2 separate regions of the Homo sapiens genome follow, and region 1 is linked to region 2. The links are contacts of gene promoters, found by promoter capture Hi-C in blood cells and fetal thymus (Javierre and others, 2016). All regions are on one chromosome and are shown on one strand. The core of a region is centred on a gene start or on the middle of the fragment in contact, and the rest is flanking DNA. Distances in the headings are between cores, read along the strand shown. Region 1 has its middle 70 kb from the start of IGSF11-AS1. Region 2 holds the start of UPK1B (uroplakin 1B).

The links. Contacts are between HindIII fragments. The CHiCAGO score rates a contact against its expected background, and 5 or more counts as called.
Region 1: a contact is called between a fragment that was not itself captured here and the fragment with the promoter of UPK1B in region 2, in 2 of 17 cell types (naive CD4 T cells and naive CD8 T cells). The highest score is 5.7, in naive CD4 T cells.

What each region holds. Positions count from the first base shown.
Region 1 is chr3:118,871,032-118,875,831 of GRCh38, forward strand. No RefSeq gene overlaps it. Among named protein-coding and RNA genes, the nearest start is that of IGSF11-AS1, 70 kb to the right of the region's middle. The HindIII fragment of the contact is 882 bases long and covers 3,066-3,947 here.
Region 2 is chr3:119,172,274-119,177,107 of GRCh38, forward strand. UPK1B (uroplakin 1B) reads left to right here and starts at 1,325. Exons shown (of 8, transcript NM_006952.4): 1 at 1,325-1,365. The HindIII fragment of the contact is 9,656 bases long and covers 1-4,834 here.

The DNA of each region.
Region 1 (4,800 bases), core at 2,257-4,756, 300 kb before region 2:
CAGCCTGACTATGTGGTAGGAAAGAAAAATCCATTTTCTGGAGAGAAATTTAAGGCTGCAGAAAGTTGCATAAATAAAGAGAAGCCAAATGTTAATAGCGAAGACAATGGGAAAAATGCCTCCAGGTCATTTCAGAGACCTTTGTGATAGCCCCTCCCATCACAGACCTGGAGGCCTAGGAGGGAAAAATGGCTTTCCAGGCCAGGCCCAGGGCCCCACTGCTCTGTGAGCTTCAGGACATGGTGCTCTGAGTCCCAGCCACTCCAGCTCCAGCCACGACTAAAAGGAGCTGAGGTACAGCTAGAGCCATTACTTCAGAGGGTGCAAACCCCAAGCCTCGGTGGCCTCCAAAAGGTGTTGGGCCTGTGGGTGCACAAAAGACAAGAGTTGAGGCTTGGAAGCCATCGCCTAGATTTCAGAGGATGTATGGAAATGCCTGGACGTCCAGGCAGAAGTCTGCTGCAGAGGCAGAGCCCTCATGGAGAACCTCTACTAGGACAGTGCAGAGAAGAAATGTGAGGTTGGAGACCCCACACAGAGACCCCACTGGGGCACTGCCTAGTGGAGCTGTGAGAAGAGAGCCACCATCCTATAGACCCCAGAATAGTAGATCCAGCGTTGAAGCCACAGGCACTCAATGCCAGCTAATGAAAGCAACCAAGGGGGCTATACCTTTCAGAGCCACGGAGGTAGAGCTGCCCAAGTCCTTGGGAGCCCACCCCTTGCATTAGTGTGCCCTGGATATAAGACATGAAGTCAAAGGAGATTATTTCGGAGCTTTAAGGTTTAATGACTGTCCTTCTGTGTTTTGGACTTGCATGGGGCCTGTAGCCCCTTTGTTTTGGCCAATTTCTCCCATTTGGAATGAGAGCATTTACCAAATCCCTGTACTTCCATTGTATCCTGGAAGCAACTAAATTGTTTTTGATTTTCAGGCTCATAGGCATAAGGGACTTGGCTTATCTCAGGTGAGACTTTGGACCTGAATTTTGGGTTAATGCTGGAATGAGTTAAGACTTTGTGGGACTATTGGGAAGCATAATTGGTTTTGAAATGTGAGAAGGACATGAGATTTGGGGGTGGGGATCAAGGGCAGAACGATATGGGTTAGCTCTGTGTTCCCACCCAAATCTCATGTCAAATTAGAATCCCCAGTGTTGGGGGAGGGGCCTGCTGGGAGGTGATTGGATCATGGGGCTGGATTTCCTCCTTGTTGTTCTCATGATAGTGGGTGAGTTCTCATGAGATCTGATGGTTTAAAAGTATGACACTTCCCCCCTTTCTCTCCTGCTCTGCCATAGGAAGATGTGCCTTGCTTCCCCTTCATCTTCCACCATGATTGTAAGTTTCCTGAAACCTCCCAGTCATGCTTTCTATACAGCCTGTGGAACTGTGAGTCAATTAAACCTCCTTTCTTCATAAATTACCCAGTCTCAGGTATTTCTTTAAAACAGTGTGAGAATTGACTAATAGCGTGTTTCCTTGGGATCAGATGATCAGGAACATAGGGAGTCATCAGACTTACTGAGAGAATGAAAAGAGGAAATGTTTCACCTATCTCCACATAAAGTGGAAGGAAGAGAATGTTTCACACATAGTAGATAGAAGGATAGACTGGGTGGGTGGCCTGCATGACCAATAACACATCAGATTAATTTGTTTTATAATCAGCAACTTCTAGTATATACTAATCAACTTTGATCACTAGAAGTGTTGATAAAAATAGTCTTGAGTTCAATTGAGTTCCAATATTCAGATTCACAAACTTTTTTCAGCATCTACTATGTGCCATGTGTGAGGCCTGGAAAAACACAAATAATTATGAAATAGTTACCACCTTCAAGAAGCAAATAATTACAAAATGGTTCCCATCTTCAAGGAGCATAGTCACAGGACAAAATTAATTTGAATATGATATGTATATCCTATGATAAGTATACATTATCTTATATAATCACAGAAGATTTATTTTCCTGTCTTGGGCAATCAAAAAAAGCTTCAGGAAAAGATATCTCCTAGGAAGAGATTTTTCTATTCTTCTGTGGTGGAGATTCCTATTTTCATCATATCCTTTCACCATGAAAGTTAGGTTTCTAAGATAAGCAACATAACTTTCCTGAAGTTTTGTCTCAGAGCTATTAAAATAGAGATGTTGAAAGAGTCAACAAAGCTGTAATGTGAATGTGAAGATCTACGGAAAACTGATGTTAGATTGTGAACTCCTGACATAAAATAATTTGGAGGATGACTACTAGACATCATTTCAAGCTGTGGTGACCTTATAAACTTATTGCCCAAATTAAGACACTCTGAGAGTAATTGAGGGACACTATTAATAATTCCTAGGCTACAAATATAAACTGAGACTAACCTGAGTGAGCTGGTAATAGGGTCACTCTAGTGTAAGGCCATATTTCCAGTCATCTGGGAAATAGTAAAGACTTCTAACAACATACTTTGTAATGACCACTGGTCTTCCATATCACATTGAGGTTAAACTGCTTGTGAGGGATTTTTGAATAATATTCTGAAACATAAGATTAATTTTTGGCCTTGAAATTAAGCAACTTTTAAATGTTAAGTGCTATTGTCTGAATGTTTTTCAGAATTCATATGTTGAAACTTAATCCCCATGGTGGTGTTGTTATGAGGTGGGGACTTTAGGAAGATGATTAGTCATTCCGGCTCTCCTCTCATAAACAGATTAGTGCCTTATAGAAGATCTGGAGGGAAGTGGCTTAGGGTCTTTTTGCCTTTTTGGCCCTGCAAATATGTGAGGACACAGCAAGAAGGCCCTCACCAGACACTGAATGCTGGTGCCTTTATCTTGAACTGCCCAGCCTCCAGAACTGTAAGAAATAAATTTCTATTGTTTATAAATTACCCAGTCTGTCGTATTTTGTTATTAGCAGCACAAATGGACTAAAACGATGAGACTAAGATCACATCTGAATGGACCATTACTTAGAACAGGATGTGACCAGAGAGGAGGGTCCAGGAGAGCACTCAGCACAGCCACAGGGGACAGGCACTGGGGAAACTGAATCAGCCACTAATGCCAACAAAGCTTCCTGATCTACAGCACTCCTAAATCTTAGCTCATGTAAATACTCACCAGTGGCTGAGAGAGAAAGAGGAGGAGGAGCACAGGTAAAATCGGAGGCTATCTCAATTGGTAGGCAGAGACAATTGAAAAAGAATACAGGATAGGTAAGACTCAACAAGTCAGGTCAGGAATCCAATATCTAGATGGTATTAAAGCCGAGCCACAGCCTTGAATTCTGCCTGGAGAGACCTAAATCACAAATTCAATTAGTGGTACTGTGGCACTGGGGGAATGCAATAGTCTTAAATACAATGTTGACTTTGCACACATTTTAAAATATGTATTTATAACAATGAGACATTTCAAATAATAGTGATAGTGGCTAGTGTGCATTGAATAATGTTTCAGTGACTGTTCTAAGTGCTTCACATCTTAAATGCTGTAAACTATTATCCTCATTTTGCACTTGAGAGACTGAAGTATTGAGATATGAGCTGTGAAGTCTTGGAGGACACGGGAAGCAATGCATTTACCATTGTTGCAATTTTGTCACTTAAAAGGTAGACTTGGACAGACAAGAAATACAGCTCTTTTAAGGCAATGCCATTTACTTAAGAAGCACATAATGAAGGATTTGAGATTATCCTAGAGAGTGTCTCAAAGGGTAATATTTTTTAAATTTTTCCAACAATAGTGAGAATTTCCTGTTCACTTACACAATGCTAAGTTTGGTGCATTATTATAAATGCCCACTTTAATTAATACAATAGTACAATGTAGTTCACCTAGAATTAATGGATGAGGTAGGAAGCAAACTTGCTCCTATTTCTCAAAGAGGTGTGGAGAGAGACAGAAGTTAGGGAAAACTTTCTAATAAAAAATCAGCTGTTGAAATCAAAGAAGCTTTAGCATGAACCAAATTGCTAAGAACCAATGGCAAATTAGAAGAGGTTAACTAGGTGCTGGGATCCTAAAAAGAGATCTACCATCCAGAAACTCAGACTGGAATTTGATAACCTTCTGAGAAACATCAGATTATTGTTAAAGCACGTTCCAATAAACTAGAGCTCCTATTTGGCTCAGGATGAATGTTTTTAATTTTGAATACTGCTCTGAATTGCTTATCATGAAAATGTTTAATAATGCAATGTGGCTACAATGTAGGAAGCATTGTAAAGAGAGGCAGAAGGTGAATAATTGGGTAAAACAATCTCAATTTAAAATGAGCAGGGCAGCTGGTTCATAAAAGAAATACTGTGCACATGAGTGGAAGAAAATAGCTGGTGAAAAACAAAGAGAATCAAAAATAGTGTAACACAGAGAAAATGAACTGCAGTTCCTTTCTCTTTTAAGTCCTAAATAGAAAGCCATGTGATGTAAGCAGTGGGTTTCTATATTACCCAGAATCCCAAACAACAACTAAAGATCTAAAGATGTGCTTTTGGCAGTAGAGTTGGAGAAAAGAATAGATTCCAGATGACTTAGATGATGCCCCTCACGGAGGCCCAGGAAATATTTGCCAAGGCGTCAGCTACATGGACAAGGTAAAAAACATCACAGTTGGCCACACAAGACATTTGGGCCTCTATATGAAATTTATGTTCGTTGTGTGCTGTTTCCAAGTAAAATTTCAAATTAACTATTTCTTTGATAAGAAATCGCCATAATTCTTAGAGTGCTGAAAGGGAGAAAATGAACCAACTATAGTCATGGACAATGAAATTAATTGCCTGAGAATTTCCTGTAAAAGAGCT
Region 2 (4,834 bases), core at 75-2,574:
TTTAACCATTGCACAGAATTCTATTGTGTGAAATATGATAATTTATCTAACAAGGCCCTGAAGAGCTGCAGAGGAATAAGGCCTTGTGATGGACACAGAGGTGCTCCATGCAGTCCCCCTTGAAGTGGGAGGTTGCCCTGCTGCTGGGAGTACTTGCAACCTCCAGCCTCCAGTTATCAGCCCCTTTCAGGACTTGCCTCAGCTACAGAAAGCTGCCTTCCCAGGGTAATCCACATTGAAGGGCAGATCATAGAGGAGCCCAGTGTCAGAGCTACTCTGACAGGCCATCTTCCTCCAGAGTTTCCTGAGGAGGGCTGCTTAAGACTGTCCCATCTATATTGCAGCTCAACTTCTTCCTCTGCCCAGTCCTGTTTCTCCCCTCTCCCTGCCATGGGTGTTAATCTCAGGGCACTGTCTAATAAATATATTGCACACTAAATTTTGTCTCAAAGTCTGCTCCTGAACAACCTAACCTGCAACAGAGATGATGCTGACCTTTGAGGAACTCCCAAGTCTATTGGTAAAAGCACTCAGTAAATTCTAACATTACTGCAGTTACCGATTCCTAACTCAGGTTAAACAAGCGATGGCGCATGTATACCATGATAGGTTATGCAGCCATTAAAATAATGTTCTGGGTGCCATGTATAACACATGATGGCTCCAGAAGTCAGGGAAGAAGGAAAAAAGAAGGGAAGGGAAGAGAAGAGAAAGGGAGGGAAGAAGAGGGGAGGGAAGAATTGGACATCAGATAATCACTTGAGCCCTCTCTCTCCGTGAATTTTTCCCAATCTGTTTCTTTCCACATCTCTTGCTCCTTATCAGTCTTTGGGCCACCTACAGTATGAGCATTACTTGGGCAATTACTGTCTCTCTGAATTTGGCATATGCAAATTATAGAAACTAAAACTGGACATGGCCCTACACAGGTAAGCACATATCAGCATCGCTGTGAGCGGTCAGGACTAACAAGCCTTCAACACACAAAAGCAGGAGTAAGGATCAAATTACACAAATCAAATCAAATCAAATCAAAATAAAATCCCTGAGTTTGTATTCCAGTAAAGCCCAAACCTAGGAGGGATCCAGGAAAGCGATGAGTGTGGCTGTCAAGGTGCTTCCATCTGTCAGAGTCACACATTCCAAAGCAGCAGAAATCAACTGACAGCCTCCGGTTACTCCCCCGCCTCAGCGAGGCAGGGCAGGCAGCGGAAAGCTCAGCCCATGTGAGGTGCCTCCTGCCAATCACAGACTACCCTTCCCTGGTCCTGGAGGTTCAAAGAATTGCAGGAGGGTAGAAAAGCACCTGGGTCGGGTGCAGACTGCGGAGCGGGCCCTACCGTGTGCGCAGAAAGAGGAGGCGCTGTGAGTAGACCGCTTTCCCTCTGCAGGGAATCTCCCGGGCTCAAGGGCTGGGTTGCTCTCCTGGGAGGGAAGCTAGCAGACTGGGAGGGAAAGGGGAAGAAGTTAGATTCTTGATTCATAAAGTCTGTCATTTTTTTCTTTGTAATTTAGGGTATTGTGACTGTCCTGTTCTCTTTTACTTTGAACCGTTGGAATTGCTTTCTTAATACCCTTGATATAAGTCTTGTTCTCATTAAACTTCTGGAGATATTACGCAGCCATCCTGCTTTCAACCTCAGATATCCCCACAGAAAGAACAAGAAAATCCAAGCACCCCGAGAAACCCTATATCTCCTGATTAAATCGCACATAGACAGTCACCTTTGTAGACCCCCAATTTCCTTGTGGAGTCAGAAAAGCAATAGAAAGTTTAACGAAATAGCTCGTGTTATTTCTTAATAATCTGTTCAGGCTAGCAGAGAGAAAGTTTCTTGGTCTTCTTGTCAGAAATCATTTGGTCCTGCCAACCTGTAATGAAATGTGTGAAGCAATTTACTCCCAGTTATTCTCTGCAAACACTTCTGCTTAATAAATGTGTCAGTTGAAGTAAGTCAACAAAGTAGCTTTATCTACGCAATGTTATTTTTACATAATTTGTTTTTACTCCTTACCAATTCTTTGCTCCACCATGATCTGCAGGACATAAAGATATTTTTCATTCTGATCACATTTTCACACAAAATACAAATTTAAGTTTCAAATAATGCTAGTATTATTTTATGTTTGCATTTGTTTATAAACCTAAAACTCCACTTCTAACTAGTTTTAAAGATTTTTAAGCCATTTAAGAATTCGTAGCCAGTCACAGTGGCACATGCCTGCAGTTCCAGCTATTCGGGAAGCTGAGGCCACGTGATCAGGAGTTCTAGTCCAGGCTGGGCAACATAGTGAGATCCTGTCTCTAAAAAAAATAAAAATAAATTTTTAAAGAAGTTTTGTTAACTTGAATGTCTTCTTTTAATGAAAGACAACGTTTCTTGAACATTTCTTGCCTGAGTTGCTAAGCACAACAGGAAAGAACTCATTAGGTTTTATAGATATACATACTTTGAGTATAAACAAAATTTAGGTTACATAGTTTTCAGACCCTATGAAGAAGTGGATTTTCTTTTTATTAACCTTCTCAGTGAGGAGAAAAATTTCTTACTTTGCTTTCTGCTCCAACAGATTGTTTTGCTTTCTGCTATAAAATAGTCTTTAAAATCAACTCACCTATTTTTTTTTTTTTTAACTGCTGGGAAGAATCATAGACTTTTACATCCAAAGGGGACCTTAGACATCATTTAATCAAGGGGAAAAAAAAGAAACTCAGAACTTTTTTTTTCTTTTATTTTCTTTTTTTTTTTTTTTTTTTTTTTTTTTTTTTTTTTGAGACGGAGTCACTCTGAGGCCCAGGCTGGAGTGCAGTGGCGTGATCTCTGCTCACTGCAAGCTCTGCCTCCCGGGTAGATGCCATTCTCCTGCCTCAGCCTCCCGAGTAGCTGGGACTACAGGTGTCTGCCACCACGCCCGGCCAATTTTTTGTATTTTTAGTAGAGACGGGGTTTCACCGTGTTAGCCAAGATGGTCTCAATCTCCTGACCTCGTGATCCATCCACCTCAGCCTCCCAAAGTGCTGAGATTACAGGCTTGAGCCACCGCACCCGGCCAAAACTCAGAACTTCTTTTTGACTTCTCCTGCTTACAATCTTAACCAGAGTAAACACCAGCCAGCCTTTAAATATGCTCTGGAATTTGTGCCTGATAGCCATGCAGGCTGCCCACAAACTTGATGGGCCACCATTCACCAACTGGGACAGAGACCACATTGGTGAGGGGGCACCATCATCACACACCGCCCTACCCGCCTGCCCACCCCCTCCCCCCCGCCCCAAGGACTCTCCATAGTACTCCTGCCCTGGAGCTGGGCATCTCTCTGGCAATGCCCACACCTGAGGCCCTCGTGCAACTGAGTGCTCCTGAGCCATTGCTTACAGCTAGTCCCTGATTTCCAATGGGTGGATGACTCCCATCATACTGGGAGCACCAGGAATCAAGAGCAGTGCTGTCCAGTAAAACTTTCTGTGATGAGGGAAATGTTCTAGATAATAGACACTAACCACATGTATCTAGGGAGTGCTTGAGATGTGGTTGGAGCAACTGAGGAACTGATTTTTACTTTTATTTAATTGAATTCTTTTGACTTTAAATAACTGCATGCAACTACTAACTACTGTATTAGTCAACACAGGTTTAGAGCTTTAAAGCAAGAAAAACTTATGGGCACTGTGAGCCATGGGTGACAGCCCTGGGAGAAACCTCCTCTTTTTGTTATTTCCAGGGACTTATCCTACCTTAAGTTGAAGCAGACCAGCAATTGTTGTGACCTACAATCTCCACACCCATCTTTACTCTGAGCCAAGGAAGTGTCTGTTCTTGTGCTGAGTTTCAGGGTGAGGGCTAAGGCAATCGCATATTGTGTTTCTTTGTTTCTTCCTCTCCTATTTTTCCTTTTCTTTTTTTCTCCTTTGTTAATTCAAATTTCTCTAGCATGAACTAAAGTTTGAGGTGTGGTTTGTGTGTTCTCTGGTACAACAAACTTGGGTGAGGAAAAGAGGTAATGAACTTGAAAAAATGATCTCATGCTTACTGGGCGAGTCTCACTTCTTTTTCTTCTGCTTTGCAAATTGGTTTGTTTAGTGAGCAATTGTTTTTAGACCTTTCAATGTGTCTGGAAACATCAACACTACGGGTATGATTAATTTTTATAGGAAAACAAACTGAGTGAAAGCACAATAAAGAAAAAACAAGAAATATAATTCTAGCTTTAAAAAAATCTGCACTCTTTAAAGCAAAGGAACTCCCAGGGTATTGAGCAATTTGAGTAAATCATCATCATACCAGGCCACAGGGCAGTTTTCCCACAGGGCGGGGTGCACAGGGGCTATTCCTTTACATGGAAAATATTTCGAGGTGAGTTGCGTACTTTCAGTCTGGGGCGTTCCATCTCTAACGCGGGCAGTTGCTGCTCTGCCCTCTGCCTTCCACCGCTTTCCACTTGTTAAATGTAACTCATCCCATTGGTTTCCTTCCCACCCCTGCCAGATAAGTAATCCAATATAGTCAGGGAGGCATTGTTTTAGAATAACGTGGGGAGGGTTCAGAAGACCACATATCTAAAACAGTTTCTACATACTGTGGGCTAAAAGAGAAGGCAGGAAAGAGGACACATCATATCATTAGAAGTCAGTATAGCCAGAGAGACAGACCCAAACCCCCAAATCATAAGTTACGAGGTTTGTCTTTTTAGGTTCTACCCTCTCCTTGGGTCTCTTTCCTTCTCATGGTGTCTTCCCTCGCCCTTTGAAAATTAAATAAGAGAAGGGAGCTGATAAATGAGGCATTGACATGGATGGCTCATGAAACTCAATGTGCCTCTTTTATATGAGCT